Linked DNA regions of Homo sapiens: all the other regions are linked to region 1. The links are contacts of gene promoters, found by promoter capture Hi-C in human tissues and cell types (Jung and others, 2019). All regions are on one chromosome and are shown on one strand. Each heading gives the region's core, a stretch centred on a gene start or on the middle of the fragment in contact. The rest is flanking DNA. Distances are from core to core; before and after follow the strand shown.

Region 1 (4,473 bases), core at 562-3,061:
GCAGCTGAGGTTGGCTGGTGTGAGTCTGTGCAGGCTGCCCGCCACCCTTGAGCCTCTTTCTGCCACAGCAGGCAGGCATGAGGCTCTGTCAAGGGATCCCCCGAGGCCCTCACCTGAGAGGGTGTCAGGCCCTGGGCCCCCATCCTCAAGACATTGAAGTTCCAGCACGAAGGTCTCGGTGGCTGGCCCCACTTCCATCCTGGCGGTCAGACCCCGATTCCCGGGAGTCGGCTGTGCTGAAAGGAAGGAAGCAGTTTAGCCAGGCTGGAGTGCTTTGACCCCCGCCAGGTGCCCACAGGCCCCCAAAGGCCCTCCACCTCTGCCTCGGGCCACCCAGAGCGGTCAGCTCCATACCTGCTGCAACTATAGGACTGTCCCCCGCAACGGGGAACGGGGAGTGCCGGCGGCCTGGAGGCTCAGGACTGGGGAGTTGGCAGACAGCACCAGAGGCTGTCACCTGCATAGAGGCAGGACTGCCTCTCCTGACTTTTCACAGCGGGATGGAGAGTGGGGTAGCCCCACAGAGACACAACTGTGGGTATCAGCCCTTCACAAGGGAGGAAAGCTAGAGTCACCAAAGGGACATTCAGGGCGGGGAGCTCTGGGGCCAAAGAGAGACTGTCCATCAACATCCTCCCTGCCTCCTTCAATTCTTTTTTTATTAAATACTTTTTTTTTTTTTTCTTGATACGGATTCTCACTCTGTCACCCAGGCTGGAGTGCAGTGGTGCGATCTGGACTCACTGCAACCTCCGTCTCCCCAGTTCAAGCGATTCTCCTGCCTCCGCCTCCTGAGTAGCTGGGGCTACAGGTGCGTGCCATCACCCCCAGCTAATTTTTATGTTTTTTTATATTGTAGATGATGTTGCCCAAGGCTGGTCTCGAACTCCTGGCCTCAGGCGATCCTCCTGCCTCGGCCTCCTAAAGTGTTGGGATTATAGGAGTGAGCCACTGCGCCTGGCGCCCTTCCATTCTATTGCCTTCCTGGCCTGCTCTGAGAAGGCCGCCAGCAGGCCACGTGTGTCAGCTGCCACCCCAGCTCCCGGGCAAGGCAGGTGTCCAGAGCACTGTCACCCACGGCCTGGCCCTGTGCCCAGGCGCTCCTGAGAGTCCACCCTGGCCCGTGCAGAGCTGGCCCCTCTCCCCTAAACAGGCCGACTCGTGCCATCCAGTCCAAACTCTCTCAAGGGACGCGTCCCCGGTTGCCCAGCGCCAACGACCCCCTGGGCCTCACCTGGTGGAGCATTTCCTGCTCCCGGGCAGCCTCTGCGCTAGGGAGGTGTGGTCAGCAGAGGCTGCGAGGTGAAGGCCACGGCGTGCAGCCGGCTCCTTCCGGAGGCGCCTCCATCCAGAAAGAGCCAGGAGGCGCAGGGCCACCCCGGGGGCTTTCTGGGCACTCCGGAGGGTCCACGCCCTCTGGGCTGCCGAGGTCGCCCTGGGCCAAGGGAAGGGGCTGAGAGGAGCGGCCGAGCAGAAGTTGGTGGAGACTCTCCGGCGGGGGCTGGGGCGGGAGGCAGGGCCCCGAATCCCGCGCGGGGCTCAGGGCCGGCCCCCCGGGACCATCGCGGGCAGCGGGATCCAGGCCGGCGCCCGGGGTCGGCACCACGGGGTGGCCCCGCCTGGGGTCGGCGGCGGCCAGGCGACGCGGGTCCTCGGGGGCTACAGGTGCCCGGAGCCTGCGGGCGGCCTGGGCCGGGCCGCGCGGGGGCCGGGGCGGGGGCGGGGCGGGCGCCGCGGCAAGGCCGGGTCCCCCTGGGCTCGCCCGCCCGCCCGGGAGTGCGTCCGTGCGGGCCGCTGGCCGGGCCGGGGGCGGGGGCGCGGGGGCCGGCACAGGAAGTCCCCCCGGCATCCGCATCCTGTCCCCCGCCCCTGCCCGCCCGCCGCGCCCCCGCGCCCCGGCCCCCGCCGCCGCCGCCGCCGTCGCCGCCGCCGCTCTAGGCAGCCGCAGCTCGGTGGGCTTAACCATTCCCGGCCCGGCCACTCACCCGGCCCGGGGGACACGATGCGGCGGCCCCTGGGGCGTCCCGGGCTGGCCGGTGCCGAGCGCAGCGCGCGCTGTGCCGCATCCCTGCTGCGCGTGTCCTCGCGCCACGGGGTTGGCGACTGTCACTGCCTGGGTGTCTGGGTGGGGGGTACCCAACCCGATCCCTGCCACCCCCTAGAGGGCAGGCGTGGCCTCGGGGCGCCCCTGCCGCGGTGCAAATTGTGGCTAATTAGCACACAATTCGATGGCACTCGGAGAGGGAGTAGGCGCCATCCGGGCCCGGCCCGAGCGGGCCCTGGAGAGGCCACCCCGGTCCGCACCGTGGAGCCCTCCTCCTAGACCCCGGGGCTGGGGAGGGCAGGCCAGTAGGGAGTGTGTGCCTCCCTCCCCCGATCAGGGACTGTGACCTGCATAGATCAAATGAGGCCACCGTGGAGAACTGGCAGAGCTGGAATCCTCCCGCCCAGCGCCCCTGCGGCCTTTCGCTGACCACAAGGCTGGTGGTCAGGCCTCCCACCTCCCTCACCCTCTCCTCTCCTCTTTCCCTACTTGGCAAGTGGATTCCTGCCTGGGTCAGGGGTCTTCTCCAAGGGAGGCCTTCCCTAACCCCGTCTTAATGTTGCACCACCTAACTTTCCTGTTCTCGGTGCACAAACCTCTCTAACCTGGAGAATTCAAATTCAAATTGGGATGCTCAAATTCTTTAGAAAAAACCAAAGATCTGGGGGCAGGGCATGGTACTTCACGCCTGTAAACCCAGCATTTCGGGAGGATCACTTGAGGCTGGTAGTTTGAGACCAGCCTAGCCAACATAGCAAGACCCCATCTCTACAAAAGAGGTTTTTAAAAAATTAGCTGGGCTACTGAAAAGTAGCCTGTAATCCCAACTACTTTGGAGGCCAAGGTGGGTGGACCACTTGAGCCCGGGAGGAGGTCGAGGCTGCAGTGAACTATGATCGCGCCACTGCACCCCAGCCTGGGTGATAGAGTGAGACCCTGTCTCCATCTAAAAACAAGCAAACATGCTGGGCGCGGTGGCTCACGCCTATAATCCCAGCACTTTGGGAGGCCGAGGCGGGCAGATCACCTGAGGTCTGGAGTTGGAGACCAGCCTGGCCAACATGGAGAAACTCCATCTCTACTAAAGATACAAAATTGGCCGGGCATGGTGGCACATGCCTGTAACGCCAGCTACTCTGGAGGCTGAGGCAGGAGAATCGCTTGAATCTGGGAGGTGCTCCTGGGGTGCAGCAGGAATGCCCCCCTGGTGGGGGACAAGAGCCCTCAGGGTTCACAGCCCCCTCCCTTCCTCCTGTCCCTGGGCTCACACTGCTGTGGCACAGGTGGCCACCTTGTCCTGTTTTTGGAATCTCTCTGGCCCCCACAGGCACTGGAGTTTCAGGCTTCCTTTCTGGCCCTTGCCTGAAAAGCCTGCACTCTGGTGGCTTCTGCCCCAGGCTAGAAAAAGTGCAGCAAGAGCCTGGCTTTGGAGACAGAGTCATCTAGGGTCATGGGACCTTTTGCAGCCAGGTAACTGCAGGCAAATGACTGCCTTGCGTCTGTGAAGTGGAGATGACAGCCTGCTAGGCAGGATAAGGACGAGCAGATAAGGTGAGGAGGATATGGGCAGGAGTTTAAGATCAGAGCAGGTGTGCACCTGCCTCTTCTAGCCTCCTGCAAACCCTCATGCCCTGAGGAGCCCCTCCCTCCTCAGGTCTTTATCCTCTCCCTCCACTGGCTTCTTTCTGACAGGATTTACACATCCTCAGGGCTCTCCCATCTTAAAAACATGCTACCCGGGCCAGGCGCAGTGGCTTATGCTTGTAATCCCAGCACTTTGGGAGGCCAAGGCAGGAGAATCGTGAGAGCCCTGGCTTTGGAGGCTGCAGTGAGGCATGATCATGCCACTGCACTCCAGCCTTGGCGACAGAGCAAGACTGTCTGCTGGCCGGGCACGGTGGCTCACGCCTGTAATCCTAGCATTTTGGGAGGCTAAGGTGGGCAGATCATGAGGTCAAGAGATAGAGACCATCCTTGCCGACATGGTGAAACCCTGTCTCTAATAAAAATACAAAAAAAAATATATATATATATATATATATATAGTTTGGCGTGGTGGCGCATGCTGTAGTCCCAGCTACTCAGGAGGCTGAGGCAGGAAAATCACTTGAACCCAGGAGGCAGAGGTTGCAGTGAGCCGAGATCACGCCACTGCACTCCAGCCTGGCGACAGTGTGAGACTCCGTCTCAAAAAAAAAAAAAAAAAAAAGACTGTCTGTAAAACATAAAAGAGCTACCCACTTCTCTCTCCTGCCCTTGACAGCCAAACTTCCTTTGCCATATCCCCATCTGCCCATCCCTCCTTCTCCTCTCTGACCTGGCCTCACTGCAGCCAGACAACTCCCCGTGACGTCACCAGCAATGTCCACGTCACTAAACCCTCATCATATTTGGCCTCTGGGCAGCACTGGACACTTCTGCCATGCTGT
Region 2 (4,473 bases), core at 1,409-3,908, 240 kb before region 1:
GGGACAGGGCTTACCCTGACATTGTTTTCGTGACACTTGGAGCAGATGTTTTGGTCTCTGCCTCACGGAGCATGTGGTAGGAGCAAGTGGCCTGTTGTACATCCACGGCATAGATACAGACATGGGCCTTTGTATAGAGAGGAGCAGGCCTGCAGCCCCAACCCAGTCTGCTCAGTACCACAGTCCAGGCCCCAGGTCTGGGCTGGTGGGGAACAGGGCCCTGTTTGCAGAAGGCAGTGGGTGGGCCCATGTTCAGCTCCAGGATGCTCCCTGCCCACAGATGGGCACACGCAGTGACACACAACTAGCACACACGGGCACAGTCCTGCGGGGCATCCATGTCAGTGTCTGTTCTGATGGGCGGAAGCTGTGAACAGTTTTGAACGTCATCCTTGGGGGTGTGGAGTGGCAGAGGTCATGCCTGCTGCTGGCAGGGCAGAGGCTGGCTCGGTGTCTCTGTCTGTAGCAGGGGCTGGAGCCTCATACTGCACCACAGTCTCTTGGCCGTTTTGCCCAAGGATAGCCAATTCTGGGCCGAGTCCAACCTGGGTATCTTGGACCCATGTTGTGCCCTGTCTGGTCATGGCATCCCCTCTGCCCAGCTCCATATCCCATCTCCACAGGTGAACCCTGGGGGATCCTTGTCTCTTCATAGCAGCACTGTGGGGGTAAAGTCACCCTGCAGGGCCCCAAGACAGGAGTGTTCATGTCCTGAGTGCCTGGTGAAGGTGTTAATAGTGGCCCCTATGATTTGGCAGGTGCCATGCCCACTTTCTCACTTTAGAACTTCAGAACACAGCACACTATAGGCATAGGCTCATCTCACCATTGGGAAAAGCAGCTCTGGGGAGTTAAGTACCCAAATCACCCACAGAACCAACGTTACAGTCCTGAGAACGAGTGTGCATCTTCTGACTCCCAATCCATTACTCTTGTTGCCCACCCTGGGAGGACTCACCGGAAAGGAAGCCCCCCTCTCCATGCTTAGCTTCAGGTTTGATTTGCAGAGTTGGCAGCTGCAAACAGTTGGATCTCTCTAGTCCCGGCTGAGGAGGAGAAACAGCGCCTGCAAGCTTGGCACTGCACACCTGGGGTTGGGGACAGAACATGACTAAGCACAGAGCTTTCTTCTTTTGAGGCCACGCATGTGGTGTGGAGCGGGACCACCTGCATCCACACAGCCTGGCGAACCTGCTCCTACTTCTGCTTAGCGTGTGAGCAGTGTGGTGACCAGGGTCTCCACCAGGGGGCAGGCCAGGACCGGCTCACAGCACTTTCTAGGCGCTTTCTGGTCCCGGGCTGGGACACATACAGGGCTTAGTAAAGTTCATAGATGGTAGCTCGGCAGCCCCAGGCCCCAGGTGACACCTCTCCCCTGCCTGCCCTGTACTGCCTGCTTGCAGCACTCCTGGGAATCTTGTACGAAGACAAGGAGAGACAGGACTTCATCTTCACCATCTACCACTGGTGGCAGGCTGTGGCCATCTTCACCGTGTACCTGGGCTCCAGCCTGCACATGAAGGTGAGACTGGGCAGGGTTGGGGGCCCCATGCCCAATGACAGGTACTTCCTTAGCCCCTGCCCTGGCTTCACAGCTTCCTAAACGCCACCCCTTCCCTAGCCAGTCTCTGGGCCAAGGCCCCATTCCTGCAGCCCACTGGGTGGCCCCCAACTCAGCACCCCACTTACTGGCCCACCTCCAGCCAGTCTCAGTTTGCCCATCTCTGAGGGGATTTGTGGGTGCATCACAGCCATCCTGTGGGTTGTTTGGTACCCTGTTCTCCAGATGTTGGGTCTGTCTCCCTTCATGGCCTGAAGGGGAGCAGGCTCCTCATGTTCTGCTCCCAAAAGATGGTGGCTCGGTCTAGGAAGTCCCAGTTGCTAAACATTTTTTAAAAATAGAACTAAAGGCCGGGTGCAGTGGCTCACGCCTGTAATCCCAGCACTTTGCGAGGCCGAGGCGAGTGGATTGCCTGAGGTAGGGAGTTTGAGACCAGCCTGACCGACATGGTGAAACCTCGTCTCTACTAAAAATACAAAAATTAGCCGGGCATGATGGCAGGTGCCTCTAACCACAGCTACTCGGGAGGCTGAGGCAGGAGAATCGCTTGAACTGGGAGGCGGATGTTGCAGTTAGCCGAGACGGGGCCTTGGCACTCCATCCAGCCTAAACAACAAGAGCGAAACTGCGTCTCAAAAAAAAAAATAAAAATAAAAATAGAACTAAAAATACTAGGGAGTGGGCCGGGAGCAGTGGCTCATGCCTGTAATCCCAGCATTTTGAGACGCTGAGGTGGGGGTATCACCTGAGGTCTGGAGTTCGAGACCAGCCTGGGTAACAGGCTGTAAAACCCTGTCTCTACTAAAAACAAAAATTAGCTGGGCATGGTGGCGCATCCCTGTGATCCCAGCTACTCTGGAGGCTGAGGCACAAGAATGGCTTGAACCTGGAAGATGGAGATTGCAGTGAGCCAAGATCGCGCCACCGCACTTCAGCCTGGAGGACAGAGCGAGACTCTGTCTCCCAAAGAAAAAAGAAAAAAAAAGAAAAAAGAAAAGCAGTGAGTGGGCTGGGCATGGTGGCTCACCCCTGTAATCCCAACACTTTGGGAGGCTGAGGCAGGAGGATTGCTTGAGGCCAGAAGTTCAAGACCAGCCTGGGCAACATAGGAGACCCTGTCTCTACAAGAAATTTAAAAATTAGCTGGGCGTGGTGGCGCGTGCCTGTAGTTCCAGCTGCTTGTGAGACTGAGGTGGGAGGATGGCTTGAGCCTGGAAGATTGAGGCTGAAGTGAGCATGGCACTGCGCTCCAGCAGTGGGTGGGGGAAGGGAGGGAGGGGGCGCGGTGGGGAAACGGAGCAACCGTGTCTGGAAAAAAGAAAAGAGCAGGAAGTATGCATACAGATATGTGTGTGTGTACTGAGCTATGGTGTGAAATCATTCCTGACTGCGGGTTATAGTCAAAACCCCATGAAAAGCATCACTACAGCCCACGGGTGTGTCAGGGACACAGTGTTGTGAGCCCTGGGAAGGCAGGGCCTGTGGCCAGCACTTTATCAACACTGGCGCATGCACCCTAAGAGGCAAAGGGATTTGCATTGTCCCCTTACAGCGTGGGACACTGAGGTCGCCAGGGGCATGGCGACTGTAAGGGACAGTGCTGGATGTGAGCCTCGCCTGCAGGAGGCGGTCCAGGAAACGTGGGTGGAGGGGCTGGAGAAATTGAGGGCCGCGTGGCCCGGGAGGCTCCCGGAGGAGGGAAGGGCCTATCTCAGCGAGGGGTATAGGCGGAGAAGGTGCGGGGCGAGGCGGCCGCGGGTCCCTGGCATCCCTCTCCTTACGCCCAGGCTAAGCTGGCGGTGCTGCTGGTGACGCTGGTGGTGGCCGCGGTCTCCTACCTGCGGATGGAGCAGAAGCTGCGGCGGGGCGTGGCCCCGCGCCAGCCCCGCATCCCGCGGCCCCAGCACAAGGTGCGCGGTGACGGCTACTTGGAGGAGGACAACTCGGACGAGAGCGACGCGGAGGGCGAGCATGGGGACGGCGCGGAGGAGGAGGCGCCGCCCCCGGGGCCCAGGCCTGGCCCCGAGCCCGCTGGACTCGGCCGCCGGCCCTGCCCGTACGAACAGGCGCAGGGGGGCGACGGGCCGGAGGAGCAGTGAGGGGCCGCCTGGTCCCCGGACTCAGCCTCGCTCCTCGCCGGCCTCAGTTTACCACGTCTTAGGTCGGGGGGACCCCCTCCGAGTCTCGCGCTGTCTTCGAAGGCCCCTGTCTCCCTTCCCCCACGTTGGGGACGCCCCTCCCAGAGCCCGGGTCACCTCCGGGCTTCCGCAGCCCCCTCCAAGGCGGAGTGGAGCCTTGGGAACTCCCCGGCCAAGCACAGGGGTTCGAAAATACAGCTGATACCCCGCGGGCCCTTAGCACGCGCCCCAGCGCCGGAGCAGGGTCAGGGTCTTCTTGCGACCCGGCCCCGCTCCAGATCCCCCCAGCTCTCGGCCGCGGACCCGGGCCGCGTGTGAGCGCCCTTTGCACCTCCTATCTCCAGGGTCCGCCGAGAGCCACGATTTTTTACAGAAAATGAGCGATAAAGAGATTTTGTACTGTCCTGACTGGAGAGTCCCAGGCCGCGGGGGACGGAGCGCCCCTGGGATGCACGCCCGGCTGGCCCGGCCTCTGGGCGCGGTGGTGAGAGGCCCTGACCTAGGGGGACCGCGGGGTGTGGGGAGTGCGGAGCCCCACTGGGGGCGGGGCGAGGTGTCCGTAGGCCCCGCCCACCAGCCCCTCCTCCCTCCTGAGGCCCCGCCCCCCCATGCCTGCCTGCCTTTGCCAGCCTCAGCCAGGAGAAGGGAGCGGGGGAGCGGCTGGCAGAGACAGAGGAGGGTGTGACGGCGTTGCTGGTCCCCCATGGGTCCAGAGGGCGAGACAGACTCCGAAGGCACACCCTCCAGGGGCCTGTGTAGGCATCCTCGGCCCTC
Region 3 (4,473 bases), core at 177-2,676, 160 kb after region 1:
TGAGCCATCGGGCCCAGCCGAAATTTTACTTCTTAAAAAAATTTGTGGGCTGGGCGCAGTGGGTCACACCTTTAATCCCTACACTTTGAGAGGCTGAAGTGGGTGGATCACTTGAGGCCAGGAGTTCCAGACCAGCCTGAAACTGGACATGGTGAAACCCCGTCTCTACTAAAAATACAAAAATTAGCCAGGCATGGTGGCATACGTCTGTAATCCCAGCTACTCAGGAGGCTGAGGCATGAGAATCGCTTGAACCCAGGAGATGGAGGTTGCAGTAAGTGGAGATTGCACCACTGCACTCCAGCCTGGGCTACAGAGGGAGACTCTGTCTGAAAAAAAAAAAGAAAAAGAAAAAGAAGCAAAAAATTGTGGCTCATGCCTGTAATCCTAGCACGTTGGGAGGCTTGAGGCCAGGAGTTCAAGACTAGCCTGGGCCACATGGCAAAACCCAGTCTCTACTAAAAATGCAAAAAAATTAGCCAGATGTGGTGGCACGTGCCTATAGTCTGAGCTACTCAGGTGGCTGAGGTGGGAGGATCGCTTGAGCCTGGGAGGTGGAGGTTGCAGCGAGCCAAGATCACACCACTGTACTCCAGCCTGCAGAACAGAATGAAACACTGTCTCAAAAATAAAATAAAATAAAATAAAATTTGTATACTACCAGTTTCCCAAAAGAGATTTCTTTGAAATTAAATTGTTTTGTAGGGTTTTGTTATTGTTTGTAACATTAAGTTCACAATACCTTTACTTATACTAACAAAAGTTTATGTAGAAACATTATCTTATTGCTAAGTACAAATCCTGTTTTTAAAAGAACTATTACTTTTAAGAATTTGGCAGGCATGAGGTGGGGCATGGTGGCTCATGCCTGTAATCCCAGCACTTTGCGAGGCCGAAGCGGACGGATCACCAGAGATCAGGAGTTTGAGACCAGTCTGTCCAACATGGTGAAACCCCATCTCTACTAAAAATACAAAAAAAAAAAAATTAGCTGGGTATGGTGGTGCGTGCCTGTAATCCCAGCTACTCGGGAGGCTGAGGTCGGAGAATCGTTTGAACCCGGAAGGCAGAAGTTGCAGTGAGCTGCGATCGCACCACTGCACTCCAGCCTGGGTGACAGAGTGAGACTCTGTCTCAAAAAAAAAAAAAAAAAAAAAAGGATTTGGCAGGCATGGTAGCTCATGCCTGTAATCCTAGCACTTTGGTTTGGGAGGACGAGGTGGGTGGATCGCTTGAACTCAGGAATTTGACCAGCCTGGGCAACGTGGCAAAACCCGTCTCTACAAAAAATACAAAAATTAGTCAGGTGTTGTGCTGTGCACCTATAGTCCCAGCTACTTAGGAGACTGAAGCAGGAGGATCACTTGAACCTTGGGAAGTCGAGGCTACAGTGAGCTGAGAGTGGGCCACTGTGTTCCAGTGTGGATGACAAAGTAAGACCCTGTCTAAAAAAAGAAAAAGAAAAAAAAAAGTCGAGGCCAGGAGCAATGGCTCACGCCTGTAATCCCAGCACTTTGGGAGGCCAAGGCGGGCAGATTACAAGGTCTGGAGTTCGAGACCAGCCTGGCCAACATAGTGAAAACCTGTCTCTACTAAAAATACAAAAAATAAGCCGGGTATGGTGACACACGCCTGTAGTCCCACCTACTCGGGAGGCTGAGGCAAGAGAATCACTTGAACCCAGGAGGCAGAGGTTGCAGTGAGCCGAGATCCACCACTGCATTCCAGCCTGGGCAACAGAACGAGACTCCGTCCTCCCCGCCCCCCCAAAAATAAATAAATAAATAAATGTAAATATATAAATAAATATATGTGTGTGTATATATATATATATATATATATATATATATATATATATACACACGATCATAGGCACAACCTACTACTGAATTAATGGTGGCTCAGCGTTTTGGTTATATATTTGCATGCCACACATACGTATCACGATATGTTTGTGTGTATGTAATTACGGAGAGATTAGGCAAAGTTGAACAAGCATCATTTGAAAATAAACTTTGTTTTCATGCATACATAAAATTAGAGAACTTGTTTTACCTCACCCTTAAGTTTTAAATAGTTTATTTATTTTATTTATTTTTTTCAGACGGAGTCTTGCTCTGTCGCCCAGGCTGAAGGGCAGTGGTGGGATCTCGGCTCACTGCAACCTCCGCCTCCCAGGTTCAAGTGATTCTCGTGCCTCAGCCTTCCAAGTAGCTGGGATTACAGGTGCCCAAAACCATGCCTGGCTAAGTTTTTTGTATTTTTAGTAGAGATGGGGTTTCCTCATGTTGGCCAGGCTGGTCTCGAACTCCTGACCTCAAATGATCCGCCTGCCTCAGCCTCCCAAAGTACTGTGATTACAGGCGTGAGCCACTGCACCTGGCCCAGTCTTGGGTACTTTAAAGAAACTCCTAGATGGCATATTTCATCCATAGATACTACATTCTAGTCCTAGTTGATAAAGACTTTTTATCACACCAACAAAGTTAGTACTTCTTTTTTTTTGAGATGCAGTCTCGCTCTGTCGCCCAGGCTGGAGTGCAGTGGCACATCTCGGCTCACTGCAAGCTCCGCCTCCCGGGTTCACGCCATTCTTCTGCATCAGCCTCCCGAGTAGCTGGGACTACAGGCGCCCCCCCAGCAAGCCCGGCTAATTTTTTCTATTTTTTTTAGTAGAGATGGGGTTTCACCGTGCTAGCCAGGGTTGTCTTGATCTCCTGACCTCGTGATCTGCCCGCCTCGGCCTCCCAAAGTGCTGGGATTACAGGCGTGAGCCACCGTCCCTGGCTAGTAATTCTTAAATATCATCTAACAGTCTATGTTCAAATTTTCCTGTCTCAAAAACATCTTTTTATCTCTGATCAATGGTGTCCAGCAAAAAAAAAAAAAAAAAACCAAAAACATATTTTTTATGGTTTGTCAATTTGAAGCACATCCAAAGCCTGCACGTAGCAGAAGCAGATTATCACTTTTTTTCTTTCTTTCCTTCTTTTTTTTTTTTTTTTTTTTTTTTGGAGGGAGGGTCTCTCTCTGTTGCCCAGGCTAGGGGGCAGTGGTGCCATCATAGCTCACTGCAGTCTTTAACTCCTTTAACTCCTGGGCTCAAGCAATCCTCCCACCACAGCCTTCTGAGTACTTAGGACTACAGGCCCATGCCAAGACACCTGGCCAATTCTTAAATTTCTTGTAGAGACGGAGGTCTCACTATGTTACCCAGGCTGGTCTCCAACTCCCGGGCTCAAGTGATCCTCCCGCCTCAGCCTCCCAAAATGCTGGGATTACAGGTGTGAGTCACCATGCTCAGCCTGGCCCACTTTTATAACTAAAGGCTTAAAACTCACCAGCAACAGCCACGCTTTTAGAGTATATAGTAGTGCGTGCTGTGGTGGTATTTAGTAACTAACCCATCAAAAAAACTAATATATGCACATATATACATACTTTTTTTTTTTTTTTGAGTTGGAGTCTCAGTCTGTCGCCAGGCTGGAGTGCAGGGCGCGATCTCGGCTCACTGCAACCTCTGCCTCCCAGGGTCAGCGACCTCCCTGCCTCAGCCTCCTGAGTAGCTGGGACTACGGGTGCGCACCACCACGCCCAGCTAATTTTTGTATTTTTAGTAGAGACGGGGTTTCACCATGTTGGCCGGGATGGTCTGGATCTTTTGACCTTGTGCCCTATCCGCCTCGGCCTCCCAAATTGCTGGGATTACAGGCGTGAGCCACCGTGCCCGGCCCATACACATACATTTATTGTACATTTTACTGATTCAAAGAATGTTGTGTTGGAGATCCCCCAAACCACCTTCAAGTTGAGTGATTTTTTTTTTTTTTTTTTTTTTGAGACAGAGTCTCTCTCTGTCACCCAGGCTGGAGTGCAACTGCAATCTCGGCTCACTGCAACCTCTACCTCCTGGGTTCAAGGGATTTTCCTGCCTCAGCCTCCCAAGTACCTGGGATTACAGGTGCATGGCAGCACGCCTGGCTAATTTTTATATTTTTAGTATCACCATGTTGCTCAGGCTGGTCTCAAACTCCCGACTTCAAGTGATCTACCTGCCTCGGCCTCCCAAAATGCTGGGATCACAGAAGTGAGCTACTGAGCCCGGCCATGTTCTATGATTTGCTAGAAGCACTCAGGCTCAGAAAGGCTGTCATACTTATGGTTGTAGCTTATTACAGTGAATGGATATGGATTCAAATCAGCAAAGGAAAAGGTGCATAGGGCAGTGTCTGGGAGACGCCAGGCATAAGCTTCCTTTCACAGTGGAGTCATATATATATCCTTAATTTGCCCAGCAACAATGTGTGACAACATGCATAAAGTATGTCCAACTAGGGAAGCTTCCCTGAGCCTGGGTGTCCAAGGGATTTTATTAGGCTCGGTCATGTAGGCATGGAGCATCCGTGTGACTCACCTTACCTACTCAGTCTCCAGCCACCCACCCAGAGGTTAACCTAATACAGCATGGCGCAA

The links. The method cuts DNA at HindIII sites, captures the fragments that hold promoters and counts their contacts. A contact is called where the count stands out against the background at its distance.
Region 2: a fragment that was not itself captured here is called in contact with the fragment with the promoter of ZNF853 in region 1 in 1 of the 25 tissues and cell types used here (dorsolateral prefrontal cortex).
Region 3: a contact is called between a fragment that was not itself captured here and the fragment with the promoter of ZNF853 in region 1, in 1 of the 25 tissues and cell types used here (aorta).

Annotation. Positions count from the first base shown.
Region 1 is chr7:6,612,948-6,617,420 of GRCh38, reverse strand. It overlaps ZNF853 (zinc finger protein 853), which reads right to left and starts at 1,811. Exons shown (of 3, transcript NM_017560.3): 1 at 1,235-1,811; 2 at 114-231. The coding sequence starts at 1,246. RefSeq lists enhancers at 2,174-2,927, 2,928-3,681. The HindIII fragment of the contact is 23,550 bases long and covers 1-4,473 here.
Region 2 is chr7:6,854,673-6,859,145 of GRCh38, reverse strand. It overlaps the pseudogene UNC93B2. Among named protein-coding and RNA genes, the nearest start is that of CCZ1B, 31 kb to the right of the region's middle. The HindIII fragment of the contact is 9,684 bases long and covers 1-4,473 here.
Region 3 is chr7:6,453,855-6,458,327 of GRCh38, reverse strand. No RefSeq gene overlaps it. Among named protein-coding and RNA genes, the nearest start is that of DAGLB, 8.1 kb to the right of the region's middle. The HindIII fragment of the contact is 6,615 bases long and covers 1-4,473 here.